4 separate regions of the Homo sapiens genome follow, and regions 1, 2 and 4 are each linked to region 3. The links are contacts of gene promoters, found by promoter capture Hi-C in human tissues and cell types (Jung and others, 2019). All regions are on one chromosome and are shown on one strand. The core of a region is centred on a gene start or on the middle of the fragment in contact, and the rest is flanking DNA. Distances in the headings are between cores, read along the strand shown.

Region 1 (2,700 bases), core at 47-2,546, 240 kb before region 3:
TCACCATCATGCACATACACAGCTCACCAGGGAGACAGAGATCCCAATAGGGTGGGGAGCAGGCACCAACAGAATCCTCCCAACCAGTTGGGAAAATAGGAGTGCAAAGGAGACTGTGTCCACTGTTTATCTGGAATGCTGAGTGGGTGGAGTCCTGTTCTATCATGGCACCCAGGGTCAATCAGAACTTCCCTGGGTCCCTATAGTATGAGGGGCCAGCTAGTTTTCCAACACTTCCAAGGAAGGCATGGAAGGTGCTGGGCAGGGCCTGGTGGGCTGGGAGGGCCTCAGCTGCAGAGTCAGGAGGACACAGAGTGTGTGGGCTAATTACTACAGAAAAAAAAGATGTGGATTTAGCAGACACCAACAAAATGGGGTGACCATGCCCAAGAGGTTAGTGAAGACAGATACTGATGACCATGGCTCGGCTCTCCCCCTCCTCCAGCTCCCCCTCCTATGGCACAGAAGCCACTAGAACTAAGTAGATGACCTGACAAGGGAAGTTGAGGCAACTGGGAATAGATTGAATTTAAGTCTGATATGACCAACTTCAGCTGACATTGATTATTAAATAAACTTAAATGTTTTTGGCAGTTGGACAGAATGGGGAGTCTATAGGAGAAACAGAAAAATGAAGCTGTGTTTTTAGAGGCCCCAAGATTTGTAGCTAATTCATTTCTTCTTTCTGCTTAGCAAGGGACTGGCTGAGATCTCAGGCCTTTCCAGCTGTGATATCCAGTGTGGCTCTGATCCCCAGGCTTTATGACTCTGCTGCTGCTACCACTGCATCCCAGGGGACTGCCAAAGTGTGTGCAGGTCACGTCCCAGTGGGGCTCTGCCTGACCCAGCACTGAAAAATGGTTTACCCCTGAGTCATTCAGACAATTGATATCGTTGAGAAACCACGGTGTGTAGGCCCTAGGCTGGGCACTGTGCCTGCTTCTGGGGACAGTCAATTGAATAAGACACTGGCCTCATCTTCAACATGTTTACAATCCTGTGGCAGCAAACAATTAGAAGCCACTGGTTCTAGGACCTTAATTAGGAATTTCTCCTGATTACTGCTTTCGTTAAAAAGACATGAGCACATCTCCAGCTAATCAGTCAACAAATATTTACTGAGCACCTACTATGTTCCAGGCTCTGTTTTAGGTACTTGGGGTACATCAGTGGAACAAATAAACAGTAGAAATATAAATAAATGAGCCTTGAAGGCCTGCTTTTATCTCTCTGCCCATCTCGGTCCTGGGGAAATAAATGTGGGTGTTTCAGGCCGAACATCCAAATGATCAACTTTTTTTTGAGACAGGGTCTCCTTCTGTCTCAGGGTCTCCTCCTTCACCAGGCTGAAGTGCAGTGGTGCAAACACAGCTCACTGCATCCTCAACCTCCTGGACTCAAGCAATCCTAGCACCTCAGCCTCCTCGTGTAGATGGGACCACAGGCATGTGCCACCACACCAGGCTAATTTTTAAATTTTTTGTTAAGAAAAGGTCTCACCATGTTGTCCATGCTGGTCTCAAACTCCTGGGCTCAAGTGATTTTCCCGCCTCAGCCTCCCAAAGCACTGAGATTAGAGGCATAAGCCACCGCAACAGGCCATCATCAACTTAATTCTAAGGCATTTCCCACCCCCACCCTCATTCCCTGAACTCCCATCCTCCTTTGATCCTCAGTCAAGGCCAACTTCGAAAACTCCTTGGTAATCAGCTGGGAGCTTGCAGGGCCCAGACCTTCAGCAGCTTGTGGGAATGTCCCATGAGGAACTTTTTTTTTGTCAAAAGAATGCCAGGAGTTTAATTACTGTGTGGCCCATGGAGGTGATTTCCATTTATCAGCCAGAACCCAGACAGATCCTAGGAAGGCCCATCATGTGAGGCTGTGGCCGCCGTGGCCTGCTCTCTCCAGCAAAGGATAACCCTGGGGCCTGTGCCCTGGGCAGGGGCAGCAGGAATGCTTTGAATGCTTCCCCTGCATGTGGCCTTGGGTTTTACCAATGGCTACAGCGGGTGGTTTAATTAATAAATGTCCACTGCTTGTCATTTATCATTAGCAAAACAGGAGGGGTTGGAGGTGGGGGCAGCCAAGAGGGCAGGGAAGCTTTCTCCAAACAAGGTGCACCGATAAATTAAAGCTTTATCCATCAGTCTCACAGGCTGGCTGCTGTTGTACAGCCCCACGTTACTTTCCTCTGGTTCAGAGGCCAATCTCATGTTTCTGAAGGGCTTTGCAGCAGCTGTAGGGGGTTTCATCTATGACTGTGTTTCCCTTGTCAAATCTCAGCAAAGGACTGTGTTGCATGGTATGGAGGAGAGAGAGCAGCATGTGCCCAGGGGACTGGTTCCCATCGGGGTCTCAAACTGAAACTCTATGGTGGATCCAGCCTGAGGCTAGATTTTTGTTTGGCTACAATGGCATTTGACAAATTGGAAATTTTTACATAAAAATTCAAGTTTCTGGCTTCTATTGAAAAAGCAAGGCGAGGCAAAACCAAACCCTCTTTTTCAGTATGGCAACAAGCAGCTGATGGCCAGCTTAGGCAGGCAGGGCAGCCATGTGAGGTTGTGTGAGTTGTGCACTGCACAAAAGCACCTAGCAGAAGGTGCAAATGGAGGCTGAATCCAGGCCAGGCTGTCTTTCCAGCAGAAGCCCTGTAGGCAGGATGCAGGCCTTCCACTTCCCCACCACCGCTGACAATCC
Region 2 (2,700 bases), core at 46-2,545, 130 kb before region 3:
CAAGGCTACATTAAGCGTTCTTTTCCGAGTTGTTTGTGGGCAGGAGAAGCCATTGAAATTGCAATGAACAGAGGCACCTGGCTCCCCAGGGACAATTTCCGAGTCCATCTCCCCACCTTGTTTATTTGTAAAATGGGAACACAGACACAACTGGTGTATGTTTTCATTAAACCAAGTAGGAGCTTGTGGCATTTCTGTCTGCACTTGAGACATGTTTATACTGCTGAGTCCATTATGAATCTGTTTAATATCCTTCGAATTCTCCGAGTCCTTCCATCCCTGCAGCCAGGAAGTGGGTAATGTGCACACAGGGAAGAAATTTCCAGGCACTCAGACCTTTAGGTAAATGAGGACTCTTTTTTCTTTCTTTTCTTTAAAGAGGGGAAAGCCTGTTGCAAAAAAATTAAATTCTTCCTGTTCAAAATGGTTTTTCCAGTGATCCTTTCCTTGTAGGAAATTGGTTAGGTCCTAGAGAGATGGTGAAGGAGCTACCAGCTAGGGGAGCCTGGGACTAGTGAGAATAGCATCCCTTTGCCCTGGAGAGCCTGGGATGGAGGCATGGAGGTGAGTGACTATCTGGGGGCTGAGAAGGACATCAGGGGATCTGTAGCCAGGAGCTCAAGGTCACCTGAGGGCTGCCTTGGCTACTGGGGGCTCCTGGGAAGCCAGTATCAGACTAATCCTATCGGATTGGGAACAGGCTTCCCACTGGAGTGCTGGCAGGAGTAGCTCCCTGCTTGCTGGCAGAACAGAGAGATATTATTTTAAGGAGAAAAATGAGATTCCTGTTATTGCTTTATTCCTCCTGCAGAAACGTTGGTGCGTCCCAGCCAGGGCCAAGATGAGAGGCAGGTGGTGCCAAGAGAAGGATGAGCTCATCGCATGTGGGGACGTGAGGTGATTCCAGCAAGGCACAGTGTGGAAAAAAAGCTCCATTCTTGGGATCCCAAATCCCTGTCAAAGCAGAACCCTGTGACCCTTCCCTCCCCCACCTCCCTTCTCCATCACTCAGTCCGTCTGCCACCTTCCTTCCCCATCATCTTCTTCCTCCCTCATCTAAGCCCACTCCCATTTAATCTCTCTCTCTTCTTGCATCTTCAACCAAACACTCCTCCTCAGCACCCTTGAGCACCTGTGCAAGTTCTTGTGTGGAGACTGCATGAAGGAAAGAGCCCAGGCTTTGGAGTTGGAGAAACCCGAGTTCAAACCTCAGCCCTACCACTTACTGGCTGTGAGACAGGGGTCTTCTCCTCTCTGCTGTCTCATGTTATCATATGATCTTGCAGCTAGATGAGAAAGAAAATAGGAAAATATCTAGCACATACTAGATGTTCCCTTAATATTTCTTCCTCCCGGCCGGGCGCGGTGGCTCACGCCTGTAATGCCAGCACTTTGGGAGGCCGAAGCGGGCAGATCAGGAGGTCAGGAGATCGACACCATCCTGGCTAACACGGTAAAACCCGGTCTCTACTAAAAATACAAAAAAATGAGCCGGGCACGGTGGCAGGTGCCTGTAGTCCCAGCTACTCAGGAGGCTGAGGCAGGAGAATGGTGGGAACCCGGGAGGTGGAGCTTGCAGTGAGCCGAGATCACGCCACTGCACTCCAGCCTGGGCGACACAGCGAGACTCCGTCTCGGAAAAAAAAATAATTTCTTCCTCCCTTCCTTCCTGTGGAAGCAAAGGCTATAGTATAATTAAGAAATTGTTGGGCTGGGCATGGGGGCTCATGCATGTAATCCCAGCACTTTGGGAGGCTGGGGCAGGAGGATCACTTGAGCACAGGAGGTTAAGACTTAAGACTGCAGTAAACCAAGTTTGCACCACTGCACTCCAGCCTGGGCGACAGAGCAAGAGCAAGACCATCTAAAAAAGACAAAAAAAAAAAAAAAAAAAGCAATTGTGAGACTTTGAGATCTACAAATGTCAAATTCCTGCAGGACTCTGGAAAATATGGGTCACAGGTTATTTCTTGGACTCATCATCAGATTCCTGGCAATGGTCTAGGGATGACACAAGTCACTGTGAATGGAACCTGGCATGATGAAGAAGGGTTCCAGAGAGTTAGGGGGAACTTTCCTGGTCTTGGCCAAGAAAGAAATGTCATGGCCAGGAGCCCAGGTCAGAGAGGGCAGGAGATAAGATGATGTGGGTTGGAGGGAAGTAGCCTGAAGTTTGCGGATCAAGAAGCTCCATAAAAGTGGCCATGAAATCGGAATAGTTGGAAATTCTGAAAGGTGAGAGTGAAAAGGTGCAGAGTCCATGGGGTGAGTCACCTTTGGTAGGACACAGAGCTCTAACTGGCACTTCGGCTGCCTCAGGCAAGGGTCTGAAACACACCCTCAAACCAACTTTGGTTTTCCATCTAGGAATCATGAAGGAGGTGTTATTAACCACAGGCCTTCTGGAAGCTTCCTATGGAAGGGCCAAATCCCTTTGTTTCTGTGTCATGCAGGGGTGCATGTGCTGTCAAAATGTTAAAAATGTCACAACAGTTTCACTTTCATCACTTTCCGCAATTATTGTTTTAAATTCCATATCCTCTAAATTTCCAGCCCCCTGGGCAAAGCCCAATCACACTGCCCTGGGTAATGGCCATGATGGGGCGAGGTATCTCTGTGATGGAAACTTGATTGCTTTCTGCTTCATTTCTTGGGTTCTATTTTGCCGTTGACTACTCTTTGTAGTTTACGATTTTTAAA
Region 3 (2,700 bases), core at 43-2,542:
ATGACTTTATCTTCATTTAGGAAACTGAAGAGTGGGCTGGAACTCTCTCACTCATCTTCCCACCACCAATCTCTAAACTCATCTGAATCTGCAACTGTATTCTCTGTCCTCGCTCCTGTTACAACTGAAGAAGCCTTGCTGTACGTACCAAAGGTCAATCCATCCATTGGTTGCCCTTGATCCCATCCATCCTCTGTACCTTCATAAAGGCTCCATCTGTCTATGGCTTTAGCTTTAGGACCCTAGCCTTTTCTAATTCCTCAGTTTCGGCTCCCCAGATGTAGTTTGCCCCAAAACATCTAGTGACTGGTGTTTAAGACATAGTACAGGACGCAATGGCTCACGCCTGTAATCCCAACACTTTGGGAGGCCGAGGGAAGAGGACTGCTTGAGCCCAGAAGTTCGAGACCAGCCTGGGCAATACAGTGAGACCCCCGTCTCTACAAAAAATTTAAAAATGAGTCGAGCTTGGTGGCGCCCGCCTGTAGTCCCAGCTACTCGGGAGGCTGAGGTGGGAGGACTGCTTGAGCCCAGGAGGTGGAGGCTGCAGTGAGCCGAGATCGTGCCACTGCACTCCAGCCCGGGAAACAGAGCGAGGCCCTGCCTCAAAAAAGAGTACAGGATGAACGGTCAAAGAACACAGTTAAAAGCACAGACGCTAACTACTATGTCACAGAGTGGCGTGAAGACCAAATAAAATAATGTCAATAAAGAGCTGAGCATCGCATCTAGCACATAGTGAGCACCCAATAAACGTCAGCCATCATCGTCGTCATCGCAGCATCTGCTGCTGTTGTTGTTAAACATGTTTAATTGAGGCTGAAAAAACAAACAAAAAACAATCAAGCAGAGATGACCGCCCCGGGCTTCACTGACAGCTCTGGGAAAGTTTCTAAAGTTTCTCGAGGGCTCTCAAGCCGAGGCCACGGCAGCGTGTACCCTGGGCACCGGTGTCTGCGACAGAGAGAGACAGATTCACACGAACATACTTTCGGTCCATCAACCACCTTTCTCCTTCCTCCTTCCTCCTTCCGCTTCCCTCAATCCCAAACTGAGGTCCCAGGGACCTCCCCGAGCTCACCAAGGTCCTTGTCGTTGATCCCCAAGTGATTGTCCAGCTCAGTGCAAACCTTTGACACCAAAGACAGGTACTCGAGTTTGGCAAGTTCTTCCGCGGGGCCTGGCTCCGACCCGATTAAGGCTCCCGCCATGGCTACAGCCACAGCCATGGCTATAGCTTGCCCAGAACCTCCTTCCTCACAGCCGGCGCTCAGAGCTACTCCGGCCGGGTTCCAGCTTTCACTTCCGGGTCAGCGCGCGTCCCCTTTGTTTACGGTAAATTGAAAATTTGAGGAACGAATCAAGTCCCAACAGGATGGATCATAGAGATCAAACAGGAAGTGCTTAAGGAAGGGACAACTAGAGTGGGTTACTCTGCACGCCGATCTGCGCCCTCTACAGGCGAGAAAAATCTCCGCCCGCCCTCAGGCCTGGAAACGTTCACTCAGCGCGCTCCCGCCCTGGGTCGGCAGAGGGCGACCCCGGCCTGCACAAGAGGCGCCGGGAGGCAACCGCAAAACAGCCTGCGCCTGCGCTTTAGAACACTTGAAAAAGGAATCTTAATGCACGTCTGGAAAAAGACAAACTTGCTTTACTGTGGATCCGCAAATTCCCGGCCTCACTTCTTTGTGGTTCCTGTCGTCCGATCTCAAGTGACCCTTGACAAGCCAGTAGGCAGTAGATTGCCTTCTCTTGTTTTACACACGAAGAAACTGGCACTTCCACTGCCAGCTGGCTGCTTGGGCAAATCAATCTCTGGGGCCTTAGTTTTCTCATCTGTAAACTAGAATAATGTTGCTCTACCCTAAATGGAATAACTGCAAGGAGTGTGACACAGAGTAGGCACACCGCAAATGACAGTTACTGTTAATATCACAAGGCTAGGCCGGGTGCAGTGGCTCACGCCTGTAATGCCAGCACTTTGGGAGGCCGAGGCTGGTGGATCACTTGAGGTCAGGAGTTCCAGACCAGCCTGGCCAACGTGGCGAAACTCCATCTCTACTAAAAATAGAAAACTTAGCCGGGCGTGGTGGTGGTGGGCGCCTGTAGTCCCAGCTACTCGGGAGGCTGAGGCACAAGAATCGCTTGAACCCAGGAGGCAGAGGTTGGAGTGACCTGAGTTCACACCACTACACTCCAGCATGGGCGACAGAGTGAGACTTTGTCTCAAAAAAAAAAAAAAAAAAATTCAAGGCTGAGATGATGGTCACAGAACTGGCCTCTGGTCTGTCAAGCACAGATCCCCTTAGTCTGGGAACCCACAGAGCCAGCTGCCTCCACTCTTGTGAAAACCTGCTTTTCAATCCCCAGTTTTCCTGTGTCCTCTCAGAACTTATTCCCCCAGGGGCTGGGCACTGTGGCTCACCCCTGTAATCCCAGCACTTTGGGAGGCCGAGACGGGCGGATCACTTGAGGTCAGGAGTTCAAGACCACTCTGGCCAACATGGTGAAACCTCGTCTGTACTAAAAATACAAAAATTAGCTGGGCGTGATGGTATGTGCCTGTAGTCCCAGCTACTAGGGAGGCTGAGGCGGGAGAATTGCTTGAACCTGGGAGGTGGATGTTGCAGTGAGCTGAGATCTCGCCACTGCACTCTAGCCTGTGCGACAGAGTGAGACTCCGTCTCAAACAAACAAAAC
Region 4 (2,700 bases), core at 15-2,514, 150 kb after region 3:
CCAGCCCAATCCATTCAACCTACATCCCAATTCCCACTTCAGCAATTTGTGCCACAGGATCTAATGGCTCTGCCCCAACACGAATCTCAGTACAATGCTTGTCCCCTGCCACCACAGGCTCAGCATCAGTAGATCTCTGTTGTACCAGAGATATTTCTCTGTTACCTGGAGAGCCACCTATTGCTGTTCCCACAGGTGTTTTTGGCCCCTTGCCGACTGGCAGTGTCGGTTTGCTATTTGATCTCTCAAGCCTAAATTTAAAAGGTGTTCAAGTACATACTGGTGTAATTGATTCTGACTATTCAGGTGAAATTCATATTGTCATTAGCTCTGCAGTCCCTTGATATACGGCAGCTGGAGACCGCATTGCTCAGCTTCTTATACTCCCTTACGTTCCTTTAGGATCCAGTTCTTGTACCAGAACTGGAGGTTTTGGTAGCACAGACTATCAGGACAAAGCAGCTTATTGAGCCAGCAAGATTTCTGACACTCGTCCTGTGTGCTCTGTGCATATTCAAGGAAGGAAGTTTGAGGGAATGATTGATACGGGCGCTGATGTCTCCATTATCGCTTTACATCAATGGCCCCGACACTGGCCAAAGGAACACGCGTCCACAGCATTAGTTGGTGTTGGTCAGGCTTCAGAAGTCTATGAAAGTTCTACAATTTTACACTGTACGGGCCCAGAAGAACAGATTGGTACTATTTGCCCCCTCATTACACCCATTCCTGTTAACCTGTGGGGAAGAGAACTTTTACAACAACGAGGGGCACAGATTTCTTTTCCACAAGGCAATTACAGCCAGCAAAGTAAAGACATTATGACAAAAATGGGATTTGTTCAAGTTATGGGCTTAGGGAAATCAGCACAAGGCATCACCGAGCCTATTATACCTACCCATAAATCAGATTTTACGGGACTTGGTTATTCTTTTTAGAAGTGGTCACTATCAAGCCTCCAAATCCCATCCCCTTGACTTGGAAAACTCAGAAACCGGTTTGGGTAAATCAGTGGCCGCTCCCTAAAAATAAGCTGGAGGCACTCCATATTTTGATCCTTGAACAGTTAAAATTGGGACACATCGAGCAATCTTTTTCTATCTGGAATTCACCTGTCTTTGTTATCCAAAAGAAATCCGGTAAGTGGAGAATGCTTACTGATCTTAGGGCAGTAAGTGCTGTCCTTCAGCCTATGGGGACATTACAACCCAGCTTGCCTTTCCCCGCTATGATTCCCAAGTATTGGCCTCTTATCATCATTGATCTTAAAGACTGCTTCTTCAACATTCCTCTGGCCCCTCAGGACTTTGAAAAATTTGCTTTCACAGTTCCAACCCTTAACAACATCGCTCCCACAGCACGTTACCATTGGAAAGTCCTACCTCAGGGAATGCTTAATAGCCTACCATTTGTCAATATTACGTGGGGAGCATATTAAAGCCAGTAAGAGATCAATTTCCCCAATTTTTTATCATTCATTACATGGATGATATTCTTTGTGCAGTGCCTTCACGTTCTGTATTAATATCTTGTTTCTCTGCAGTACGACAAGCAGTTGCAACAGCTGGTTTGGCTGTCGCTCCAGAAAAAATCCAAACTTCTTCTCCTTATCAATATTTAGGAATGCAGCTAGAAGACAAGGTTATTAAGCCCCAAAAGGTTCAACTCAGATGAGACTCTCTAAAAACGCTAAATGATTTCCAAAAAATGCTTGGAGATATTAATTGGATTTGCCCCTCCTTAGGCATTCTTACATATGCTATGTCTAATCTGTTTGCAACATTATGGGGCAATCCTGATTTATGCAACAAAAGGTCTTTGACCCCTGAGGCAGATTCTGAATTACAACTTATAGAAAAACGCATTCAACAGTCTCAGGTAACCAGGGCGAATCCATATTTACCTTTTGAAATACTAATCTTTCCTACTAAACATTCACCAACAGGACTCATTATCCAGGGACATAATTTAATTGAATAGTGCTTTCTTCCACACAGCTCTTTACGGACGCTTACCGTTTATCTAGATCAAATTTCTATCCTAATTGGTCAAGCTCTTTCTCACCTTCTTCATCTTTTGGGTACAGAGCCCCAAAAAATCATTGTTTCCCTCACCTGATTACAAGTCCAACAGGCTTTTGCAACCTGCATTGCTTGCCAAGTACATTTGGCAGGTTTCCTGGGTATAATTGACAATCATTATCCTAATGTAAAACTATTTCAGTTCCTTAAACTTACTTCTTGGATCTTACCTAACATTACTATGGATACTCCATTAGCTGAAGCTGTCACTGTTTTTACTGATGCTTCCTGTAATGACCAAGGAGCATATGCAGGGCCAAAAGAATGTGTCCTTAACTCAGGAGCTACTTCAGCACAACAAGCTGAGCTGACTGCTGTCATGGCTGTTCTTGAATATTTCCCTGAACCAGTTAACATAGTTTCTGATTTGGTGTACGCAGCAGGTGTTGCTTGCAACATTGAAACTGCCTTAAACACATTTCTGCCTGATGATAACCACTTTTTCTTTTCCAAAAGTTTCAGTCCCTACTCAGAGCAAGGTCTTCTCCCTTCTACATTACTCACGTTCGGGCTCACATGCCCTTCCCCGACCTCTCTCAGCAGCAAATGCCAGCGCTGATACATTAGTTGCTCCCATTTTTATGGACGTAGAAAATTTTCACGCTGTAACTCAAGTCAA

What was found. Contacts are between HindIII fragments. The study calls those that stand out against the background at their distance.
Region 1: a fragment that was not itself captured here is called in contact with the fragment with the promoter of DHX8 in region 3 in 1 of the 25 tissues and cell types used here (small bowel).
Region 2: a contact is called between a fragment that was not itself captured here and the fragment with the promoter of DHX8 in region 3, in 1 of the 25 tissues and cell types used here (thymus).
Region 4: a contact is called between a fragment that was not itself captured here and the fragment with the promoter of DHX8 in region 3, in 1 of the 25 tissues and cell types used here (spleen).

What each region holds. Positions count from the first base shown.
Region 1 is chr17:43,722,314-43,725,013 of GRCh38, reverse strand. No RefSeq gene overlaps it. Among named protein-coding and RNA genes, the nearest start is that of SOST, 35 kb to the left of the region's middle. The HindIII fragment of the contact is 4,286 bases long and covers 1-2,700 here.
Region 2 is chr17:43,612,273-43,614,972 of GRCh38, reverse strand. LOC124904008 (a long non-coding RNA gene) reads right to left here and starts at 1,348. Exons shown (of 2, transcript XR_007065763.1): 1 at 1,227-1,348; 2 at 778-954. The HindIII fragment of the contact is 7,113 bases long and covers 1-2,700 here.
Region 3 is chr17:43,482,567-43,485,266 of GRCh38, reverse strand. DHX8 (DEAH-box helicase 8) reads right to left here and starts at 1,292. Exons shown (of 23, transcript NM_004941.3): 1 at 1,082-1,292. The coding sequence starts at 1,229. RefSeq lists enhancers at 1,028-1,457, 757-1,599. The HindIII fragment of the contact is 21,666 bases long and covers 1-2,700 here.
Region 4 is chr17:43,327,953-43,330,652 of GRCh38, reverse strand. No RefSeq gene overlaps it. Among named protein-coding and RNA genes, the nearest start is that of LINC00910, 60 kb to the left of the region's middle. The HindIII fragment of the contact is 8,377 bases long and covers 1-2,700 here.